Linked DNA regions of Homo sapiens: region 1 is linked to region 2. Evidence: promoter capture Hi-C in human tissues and cell types (Jung and others, 2019). All regions are on one chromosome and are shown on one strand. Each heading gives the region's core, a stretch centred on a gene start or on the middle of the fragment in contact. The rest is flanking DNA. Distances are from core to core; before and after follow the strand shown. Region 1 overlaps PAX7 (paired box 7). Region 2 holds the start of IGSF21 (immunoglobin superfamily member 21).

What was found. Contacts are between HindIII fragments. The study calls those that stand out against the background at their distance.
Region 1: a contact is called between a fragment that was not itself captured here and the fragment with the promoter of IGSF21 in region 2, in 2 of the 25 tissues and cell types used here (liver and thymus).

Annotation. Positions count from the first base shown.
Region 1 is chr1:18,658,986-18,663,879 of GRCh38, reverse strand. All of the region lies in intron 4 of PAX7 (paired box 7), which reads right to left. Among named protein-coding and RNA genes, the nearest start is that of PAX7, 31 kb to the right of the region's middle. The HindIII fragment of the contact is 3,689 bases long and covers 128-3,816 here.
Region 2 is chr1:18,104,556-18,109,147 of GRCh38, reverse strand. It overlaps IGSF21 (immunoglobin superfamily member 21), which reads right to left and starts at 1,350. Exons shown (of 10, transcript NM_032880.5): 1 at 950-1,350. The coding sequence starts at 1,019. The HindIII fragment of the contact is 17,740 bases long and covers 1-4,592 here.

The sequences.
Region 1 (4,894 bases), core at 723-3,222, 550 kb before region 2:
AACTTCAAGGCTATGTTAAAGTGATAACTGTTCCTGACCTGTGGGAAGATGTCAATACCACGTATCTTTCACCACAGGCTGTTATACTTCTTGTCTGGAGTCTGTCTTCTGAACTTAGGATACGGCCAGTTCCTCCACGTACCCCAAATTATCCTAGAGGATTGAGAGTCAGAAAACCCAAATTCAAATTCCAGCTCAGGCTGGCTGTGGTGGCTCACGCCTGTAAGCCCAGCACTTTGGGAGGCCGAGACGGGTGGATCACTTGAAGCCAGGAGTTTCAGACCAGCTGGCCAACATGGCGAAACCCCACCTCTATTGAAAATATAAAAATTAGCTGGGCATGGTGGCACATGGCTGTAATCCCAGCTACTCGAGAGGCTGAGGCACAAGAATCGTTTGAACATGGGAGGCAGAGGTTGCAATGAGCTGAGATCATGCCACTGCACTCCAGCCTGGGTAACAGAGCAAGACTCTGTCTCAAAAACAAAACAGAACAAAACAAAACAAACCCCACAAATTCCAGTTCATCTGCTTTCTAGCAGGAGACCTGAAGAAATCATCCAGCTTCTCTGGCCCTCAGTCTTATCATCTGTACAATGGGGACAGCAATGGCTCCTCAGTTAACAGGTGGAAGTGATGAGCCCAGGGCTCAGCTACCATCAGGTTGAAGGTGATAAAACAATGGGTAAAACCCATCACTGGCGAGGTGTCGAGAAGGAACCAGCCTCCGGAAAATGATGTCCTGGACACATTATTAACTGATTAAGTCCAGAGCAGTGTCTGTTGCACAATCCCACTTTGTCAAAATAAACATATGTATAGATGTGCCGTTTCTCTGTGGAGAAACATCTAGAAGATCAGACTCCCAAGTTATTCATTGTATTTAACTCTGGAGAGTAGGAAGCAGAGGCTGACAAGCTTTTTTACTTTCTATATTCTTTTAGTGTTTGAGGTTTTTTTTTTTTCTTCACAATAATATGTGATTCCTTCAATATAAAGAACTTACAGGCTGGGTGTGGTGGCTCATGCCTGTAATCCCAGGACTTTGGGAGTCCAAGGCAGGAGGATCACCTGAGGTCAGACATTTAGACCATCCTGGCCAACATGGTGAAACCCCATCTCTACTAAAAGTACAAAAAAATTTAACTGAGCATGATGGCGTGTCCCTGTAACCCCAGCTACTCGGGAGGCTGAGGCAGGAGAACTGGTTGAACTCAGGAGGCGGAGGCTGCAGCGAGCTTAGATTGTGCCACTGCACTTCAGCCTGGGTGACAGAGTGAGACTCTGTCTCAAAACAAAAACAAAACAAAACAAACAAACAAACAAAAAACTAGAACTAATACAATGTTTTTGAATTTGAGAAACCAGCTTTCTTTTCTCTAATTCCAAGTAGAAGTGTGAATCTACAGGCTCTCTTACAGGATGAGAGAATGAGTGAATGAATGAATGAATGAATGAATGAACTAAAGAAGGAACAAAGGAGCACTGCAAATTCCAGGACTGCAGAAAGGTCGCCTCATGGAACCACACCAATGAGCATTGCCCCGCGCATTCTCCAAGACTGCCGGGGCAGGGGTCATCTTTAGGCCCGTTTTGAAGGCAAGATCACCAAAGCTCAGAGAGCAGGAGTAGCTTGGCCAAGGCCGGGTCACATAACTTCAGCAGCACTCACCCCAGGCTTTGGGAAACCAAAGCTCCCTCTCCTCCCAGGCCTGCAGGAGGAGCTGCCTCCTCGCCCCCCTCAACCCCCCAGCACCCACCCTACCCCCAGCGAAGCACCAACTCCTGTTGCCCAACCCCAGAGCAGGTCTCTAGGACACTGGTGCAGGCAGAGACCAGGTTGTGCTCAGTCAGGGCCCCCAAAATAAACAAAGCCACTCTCTGAGCTCCAAGTGGCTGACTCCCACCTGCTCCCTGGAAATCGTCTTTGATTTCAGAACAGGCTGGAGTGTAAAACCAATAAAGCTTCCTGTGCCCATAAACAAACAGGCAGCCGCTTAACTTCCCCCTCCCGGCGCCCTCCGCCCACCCCCTGTCACTGGAAGGCGCGGGCAGAGGGCAGGGCTGTGCTCCATTGTCCCTGGGTAATTAATTGCCATAATAAGGAGCCACACTAAGCTTCAAAGGCCAGGCCCAGTTGGCCGAGGGAGCCCAGGCTCTTGTGTGCTGCAGCCAGAAAGCCAGCATGGGCTCCAGGCCCATACTCTGAGCACCTACTGTGTGCCAGGCACCACACGTGGCTTTGTCCGACACTGTGAGGTGGGTGTTGTTAGCCCTATTTTACAGATGAGAACACTGAGGCTCATGGAGGTCATTTCTTGTCTGCAGTTACAGGGCGGGGCAGTGGGCTGAGTTAGCGTGCAGGCTTCCAGATAGTCCCAGAGCAAGTGCTGGGAAAGGCCAGTTCGATCCTCTCAGCCTCTGCATGCCCATCAAGGAGCTGGAGGAGGATTAAAGTCTAATCCAAGAGACGTGGACACACCAAAGGCAAGTTTGGGGTGGGAGGAGAGATCAGAAAGTTTCTGCAAAGAGGCACAGGAAATGTGAGTTTGAAAAAATAAAGACGAATTCATTTCCACCTCATGGACCCCAAAGCGGGACTCTCCCACAGCCCCTATGCCCCCTACTCCTCATGGCAACCCTTACACTGAAGGGAGGGATATCTGTTTGCCTGTCTACCCCACCAAGCAAGGGGGCCTCTGAGGGCAGGGATGGACCCACGTTGTTCTGTTTCAGCCAAGCTCTGGGTATTTATTTCTCAACAGAGATTTACTGATCATCTAACAACCACGTGTCAACTGTCTAATCCTCCATGCTTTGGCCCCCTCCCTATTCTATGCCCCCTGCTCTAGCATGCGTGTGTGCTTTTTACTTTCCCCTCTAGCACTCTGAAGCCCTTACACTCACTATTTCACTTCAGCCTTACAAAACCCTAACGAGCAAAGTAGCTTTTGCTCCATTTTACAGCCAAGAAAACCGAGGGTCAAGGGGAGGAAATAGCTCCTTATGTGCCCATTTCTCCCCTAACTCATCCTCCAGGTCCCCCACCCCCGTGAGTCCTCTCTCCCCTCCCTTTAGCCGCTGGCTCACAGGCCAGGACTGGGCCCCACCTCTGAGCCCCCTTCTGTTTTTTCACTCAGGATTCCTGAGCCCAAGGAGGCAGGCTTGTTTATAGCCCTGCCAGTCCTGGTGCCTTGGTCCCAGCTCAGGTCAGCTCTCTGGGGCTAGTAGGGGCTTTTGAACGTGGTAAATACAGGTTGCAGGGGTCAGGGGTCACAGCCCTTCCTAGGGGGAAGTTAGACTTGAATCATCCATGAAATAGTAATGCTCATCTTGGGGCGTGGAAGGGAGGCAGATTTCTTAAATTATGATGACTCCACAACAACCCTCCCTCCACCTCCCAGGCCTCAATCATCCCCCACTTTGGTTTCCCTGGAAGGACTTGGCATCTGGATTTTCCGTTTTCCTCCCTCCTAATTTTGTCCTTAAGCCAGAAAAAATAAGGTGTCTAGGGGAAGAGAAGAGCAGAAAGGAAGAGAAGAATGTGGCGTGTGTCAGAGGCCTGCTGTGTCCTGGGCAGAGTTGGGTTGGAGTGGTGTCACCTGTCTTCCACAGGTAGGGGGATGACTTGGCCAAAACCTCCCAGCCAGCAAGTGGCAGAGCCAGGATTCGAACTTGAGTTGGTCTAAGTCAAAGAGCCAAGCTCCAAATGGGAGGCCCATTTGGCCCTATCCTAGGGGCCCCTCCCCTGACAGAGGCTCCAATTTGGGAGCGTTGATAAGGAGGACACCCCAGGCTCCAGCCACTGGGCTCCAATTCTACCCACAAACGTGGACGAATTCCGACCTCCTACATCCATGCTTCCCCTCAACCACCCCACGCAAGGGGCAGATGCCGAAGGGTAAGGTCCTCGAGCACATGGCCCGCTGGGCTTTTCCCAATTCTTTTGCAGTCACTCTTCCCTTCCAACCCATTCCTTAACAAAGGTGGGAGGAGGTTGAGGCCGTTCCTTGTGACAGGTACCTGAGCCCCACGGACCTACGGGATTGATCCTTACACGCCAGGGGGTAGGGTGAGCAACAATCCCAGTCTGCCTGGGACTGAAGGCTTTTCTGGAATGTGGGACCCTCAGTGGGAAAACCAGGAAAGTCCCAGGCCAAATGGGACAGTTGCCTGCTACCAGGACTCAGAGGCAGGGTTCCCACCTCTCAGGCAAGAGCAGTTTTCCCTCCACCTGGCTACTTGCCTAAGGTCCTTTCCTTTCCACTCTCTCTTTCCCCAGGGGAAAAACCACCAGGGAAGGTGAGTACAAATGACCTCCCTGGCCCTGCTAGCAGGGAAGCTCCTTAGAAGGTGAAGGTAAATGGCATGGGTGGAATTCTCTACACCATGATCATTAGGGACACTCCCTTTTCAGGCCCCCTCAGTAGCACCCAAATTAAGACAGATGTGGGATTGGGAGAGAGGGAGGAAGAGAAGTGGAAAGGAGGGGGAGGGAAAGCCTTGCCTTCAATTCTCAGCAGAGGCCTGGCTGCCCCCTCCCCTTTCCTGCTCAGGTGTCTCAGAGAAGTTCTCAAGTTAGGGAGCATTTATTGAGCACCTGTTCTGCATATGGTATTGCACTGGCACTAAATAGGTGAGATCAAAGCAGAATAAAATGTAGTTGACTGGTCCTTGCTCTCAAAGAAGGTCCTAATCTGGTGCAGGAGCTGAAAACACAGAACAAAACTCACTAGGACAGTGAATCTGCAGTACACACACAGACACACACATACACACACATGTCACACACATGCTTATGTGCACACAGTCACATGCATGCACACAAATACATATGCACACACATATACATACAGGCATGCACACATTACACATGCATGCACACACAACACAC
Region 2 (4,592 bases), core at 101-2,600:
GGCACTGGGTGGGAGGCCGGCCGCGGACCCTGGGGCTGCGGAGCCACCTCTCACTGGCTCCGGAGAACCCGCTCGGCTTCAACCTCCTTCTAGCTGTCTTAGCCTAACCCGGGAGCAAGTCCACACGGCGGGACACACACACACACACACACACACACACACTGAGCTGCTCACAACTCCCCAGCCCCGGAAGCGTCCATACCTCCCTGCACACGATAACCACACGCTCCATGGCACGCATACACACACTCCCAGCCCCATGAAGCCCACGACTCCCAGGCACCTGCACCCCCACCCATCCCACATAAGCAGACTCTTGTCCAGTGTCACAGTCCCATCTCCTGTGCACACAGAAATAGTAATCCGCTGTCGTACACCCCTAGAGACCTGCACACTCGGGACACACGTGAAACGCCAAACCTCACATACCCACCCCCTAACACCTCACACCCACAGTGACACAAGCTCACACACTTCACACCCTCACAGGGAAGGTGGCACATGTTCACACCCTCCCCCCAACATTCGCTCACACTCTCACACACACACCTTCTCCATGTAACTGACACAGACACTCTAACACCCATCCAGACCCTCGCTCACTCACACGCAGACCCCACACCATCACACACACACGCACACACACACTTGCATCTCTAAATACACTCCCGCACCTTCTGCCCACACAGCTCCTTCCCGGACACCCTCACCCAGACACACAACAAAGACACACAATTTACACACACACACACACCCTGGCACAAATCCATGAGCGCTCTCCAAGAGGCGTCCTCCCTCCCTCATCGAGCCAACCAGCTCCACAGACCCCGGGCAGGACCGGTGCTCGTAGCCCGAGCCTCTCGGAGCGACCCCGGCCAGCGCCCTCCCCCGGCACCCCGTCCCCGCGCACGTTCACCGCTCGGCTCCCGCCAGGCGCCCGCGCACTCACCGCGCGCCAGGTCCAGGATCGCGGCGAGCAGCAGGCAGACGCAGCGGCGGAGGCTCGGGGCGGTTCGCATGGTGCCCGGGAGCTGGCGGCGGTGGCGGGGCGGCGGGGGTGGAGGCGGTGGCGGCGGGTCCCCTCGCCATGGGCTCAGACGCGCTCCTGCCTCCGGCCACTGGCCGAGGCGGTGGCGGGCAGCGCGGAGAGCCGCGGGGGCGCCCCCATGCCGCCGCGGCCAGGCAGCCCGGGCGCCCGGCTCGACTCGGCTCCGGCTCTGCGAGGCGCAGCGACCCTCGCGCTCTGGGCGTCCTCGGGGCTCGCCGCGGTTCTCGGCTCCCTAGCTGCGCGCGGTGCCCACCGCGGCCCAGAGTCCGATCGGCTGCAGCGCCGGAGTTTGGAGCCGAATCGCGCTCTCTGCCTCGCGCTCGCCTCTCCCGGCGGCGCGAGCACCCCCCTCCTCTCGCCCTCCCTCCGTCCCTCCCCCTCTCCCCGCCCCCCCGCCCTCCTTGCCCTCCCCTCGCCGCGCTCTCCGCGTATTATACAGACTTTTCTTTAATCCTTTCTGGGCTGTTCGGCTCTCGTCCGCTAAGCCGATTTATTGCAGGGAGAAGGAGAGCTCACCCCCTCCTAACCTCCCCTCTCCCCTCACTCAGGTCCCCCCTCACTCAAAACTGGCTTGCTGCCTCCAGCTTCTTAACCCTTACCCAGGTGACCCAACACCCCGCCCTGGAAGCTATGCTCCATCGGATCCGCCTTTACCTAGCCCCTCCTATCCCCGGGATTACCATCGCCCTCCCCGCTACTCAGCCTGATGAAAGGAGGCAGCCTCCCTCCCGAGAGGGAAAGATGCCATCCTGGGAGCAGGGCAGGCAGGGTGTGGCTCTGGAGTTCTGACCTTGCCAACGATGAATGCCCTCATTGGGCAAGATTAAGGGGTTTCCATGTTCTGAAACTTCCCCAATTACGGCTGCTCCTTCCCCCAGGGACCCACGGAAATGGGGTGTGTTCTGTCTTTTTCCCATGTGCTAGGATCCAGCCAGGAAGGGTGAGGAACTGATTGTTTCCTCCTGGCAGAGACCAAGTTTCCACCTTTTTGCCAGACCTGACAGCTTTTCTTCCCAGGTCCGAGAAGAACAGGTTTGGGACTTGTATGTTACCATTACTCTCCCACCAACACACACGCGAGCACACACACACACACACACACACACACACACACACCATTGAGCCTCAGCCCTGGCGGTGGACTTTGAGGCCTCCTGCGAGGATGAAGGGGAGGGGTACTCTAGCCCTTGGAGTGGACTGGGGATGTGGTTAGATGAGGAAGTTCAGGAGATAGAATTTCACCATTGGTAGGGACCCAGAAGATTGGCAAAGCCCAGAAAAACCAGCACGACCAGGGGCAAAACCTGCTCAGAACTCAGGTGGGTCCCTTTACCCAGGCCTTCTATGGAGAATCTCCAGCTTCCCTAGCTCTGGCAGGTTGCTGAGTCAGGCTGTTGCATCGTTTACCTACATGGGCAATGGGTCTATAGCCAGTTCCATCTCCAGCAGCCCTCTGAGAGGAGTGTAGGGAGTGGGGTGGGCAATGGGTGGTTGCTGGGCTGCCTCTGGGTGAGCTTTGTGCAGAGATGTCCATGAAAGTGAACTGCTCCCTCCTCCTGCCCTCTGGAACCTCACCCCATCGCCTCCCAAGGCAGCTCTGCGGCTCAGCTTGCTCACCCACCCCAGAAGGAGCGATTTGCATTTATGAAGATCTGAAAGCATACGTTCACCTGACAGGCTTTAGAATGATCCTCTCAGTAAAATAATAATAATGATCATAATAAACCCTTATAAATAGGTGTTTGATTACAGTTTGTCCCTAAGTGGGATTTTTTTTTTTTTTTTTTTTTTTTTTTTTTGTGAATCAGACTAATTGGTTCCAGGTTGATTGGACTGCATATGGCTTGAACACTTGATGAACACTGGAGTCTTAGGTCCTTTCTTCTCCCTTTGGCTGCTGTTCTTTGCTCCCTCTCACTCGCATCCACCCAGGTCTCCCCTTCTCCAGGCTGCTGAGGGTCAGCTTGAGGTCACCTCTCCCCCTCACCTTCTTCTCAGGCTGCAGGGCACAGTCCCTTACTGCCTCCTCCCTGGCCCTCCCTCCCCACTCTGACCCAAGAAAAAGTCAACAAACCCAAAAGTCCATCCCAGGTTCTAAATCCTCTGTGGAAGGGGCTCCCTGGCTGGGGAACAGCATCAGGTTCATGCGGTTCCTTGTGCTGGTCTGAGTTGTGCAGGGAAATGCCAAGCATCGCTGTGTGGGCATTCCTACTCTCTGGCCCCAGCTGCAAATCGGCGTGCAGCTAGGCAGGTGGACAGCATCAGTTCCTCAGGTGAACCCTGAATTGGTGGGGCTTCCTGGCTGCGCTCCCTGCAGCCCAGCCCTTGGAGATGAGGGCCAGGGAGCAGGTGGGATTCCAGGGCCCCTTAGTGATGTTTCTTCCCAGCCATGGTTCACACCAGCTAGAAAAGAGAGCCAGCAGAAGGAGCTAGAGAATGGCATCTGAGGATATGCTAGTGAGGAGGAAAGCAGGCCTAACAGCCAAGGGAGGGTTGCTTCCTAGGACCAAGGATTGGGGCTGGTGTGTTGGAGATCTCCTTCAGCCCCAAGACTTCTGAATCACCTCAATTCTCTTTAACATCACCCTGTATTATAATTATTATTATGCCTAGCCAGTGCCTGACACATAGTGGATCCTCAATAAATACCAGTTGGATGAATGCGTGAATGAATGAATGAATGAATGAATGAATGAGGGTAGGTCATTCAGTCTTATCCACTCTGTTCCTCAGCTCCTTGCACAAGTCTGGCACTTGGTAGGCGTCCTGTGGCAGTGAACCTCCTTGGAGCGCCAGGATCACATATTCTGACTGGGCCCATCAGAGAGGAGGTGTCTGCTCAGGTGCGCAGTTTGGTTTTGCCCAAAGGGGCCTGGCTGTGATGTGCATGTCTATGGCCATATGGTAACCATAGTGGTTAATACGGCTGCCTTCACAGGCCCCTCCAGGGAAGCCCACTCCTCCAGCTCCTGTTTCATAAGATATAGCTTTAAAGCCTTTCCTTTGTCCCAGAGAAAGACATCTCTGGAGCACTGAGAAGCACAGTTAGCAGAGGGCACAGGGTGGGGTGCCTTAGCCAAAGGAAAAGGTCACGCGGGACAGCCCTGGGGCTTTTAATTTGCTTAACATCCCTTGGCTCCTGTCTCCTAATGGATCGGCAGGGCCTCCACTTTGCAGTCCTGGCACTCAGACCCATGAGTCACGGCAGGACAGGCCTCTTCCTCGGACACTGGCTGAGCTGGAGTCCTTGGCGGAGGTGTGGCTGTTTGCCCCCAGCCTCCCTCTGTTCATGGTGCTGAGTTAGGCTCTCCCAACAGAGTGCACTACAGCACAAAGCAAACTTCTACTCCGCGGACCCCAGGGAATAGCCCCAGAGGTCAAAGGGCCCCTCTGTGACCTCTAGTCCCCACCCTCCCTGCCAGGAAAGGGGAGGGACGCAGCACATGACTGCCTACCCCAACCTGGCTCCCAAGGGAATGGGCTCTGCTGGTTTGCAGCAGGACACCCAGTGAGGTTCAATAATAAGAGTCTGAAGCACTTATGA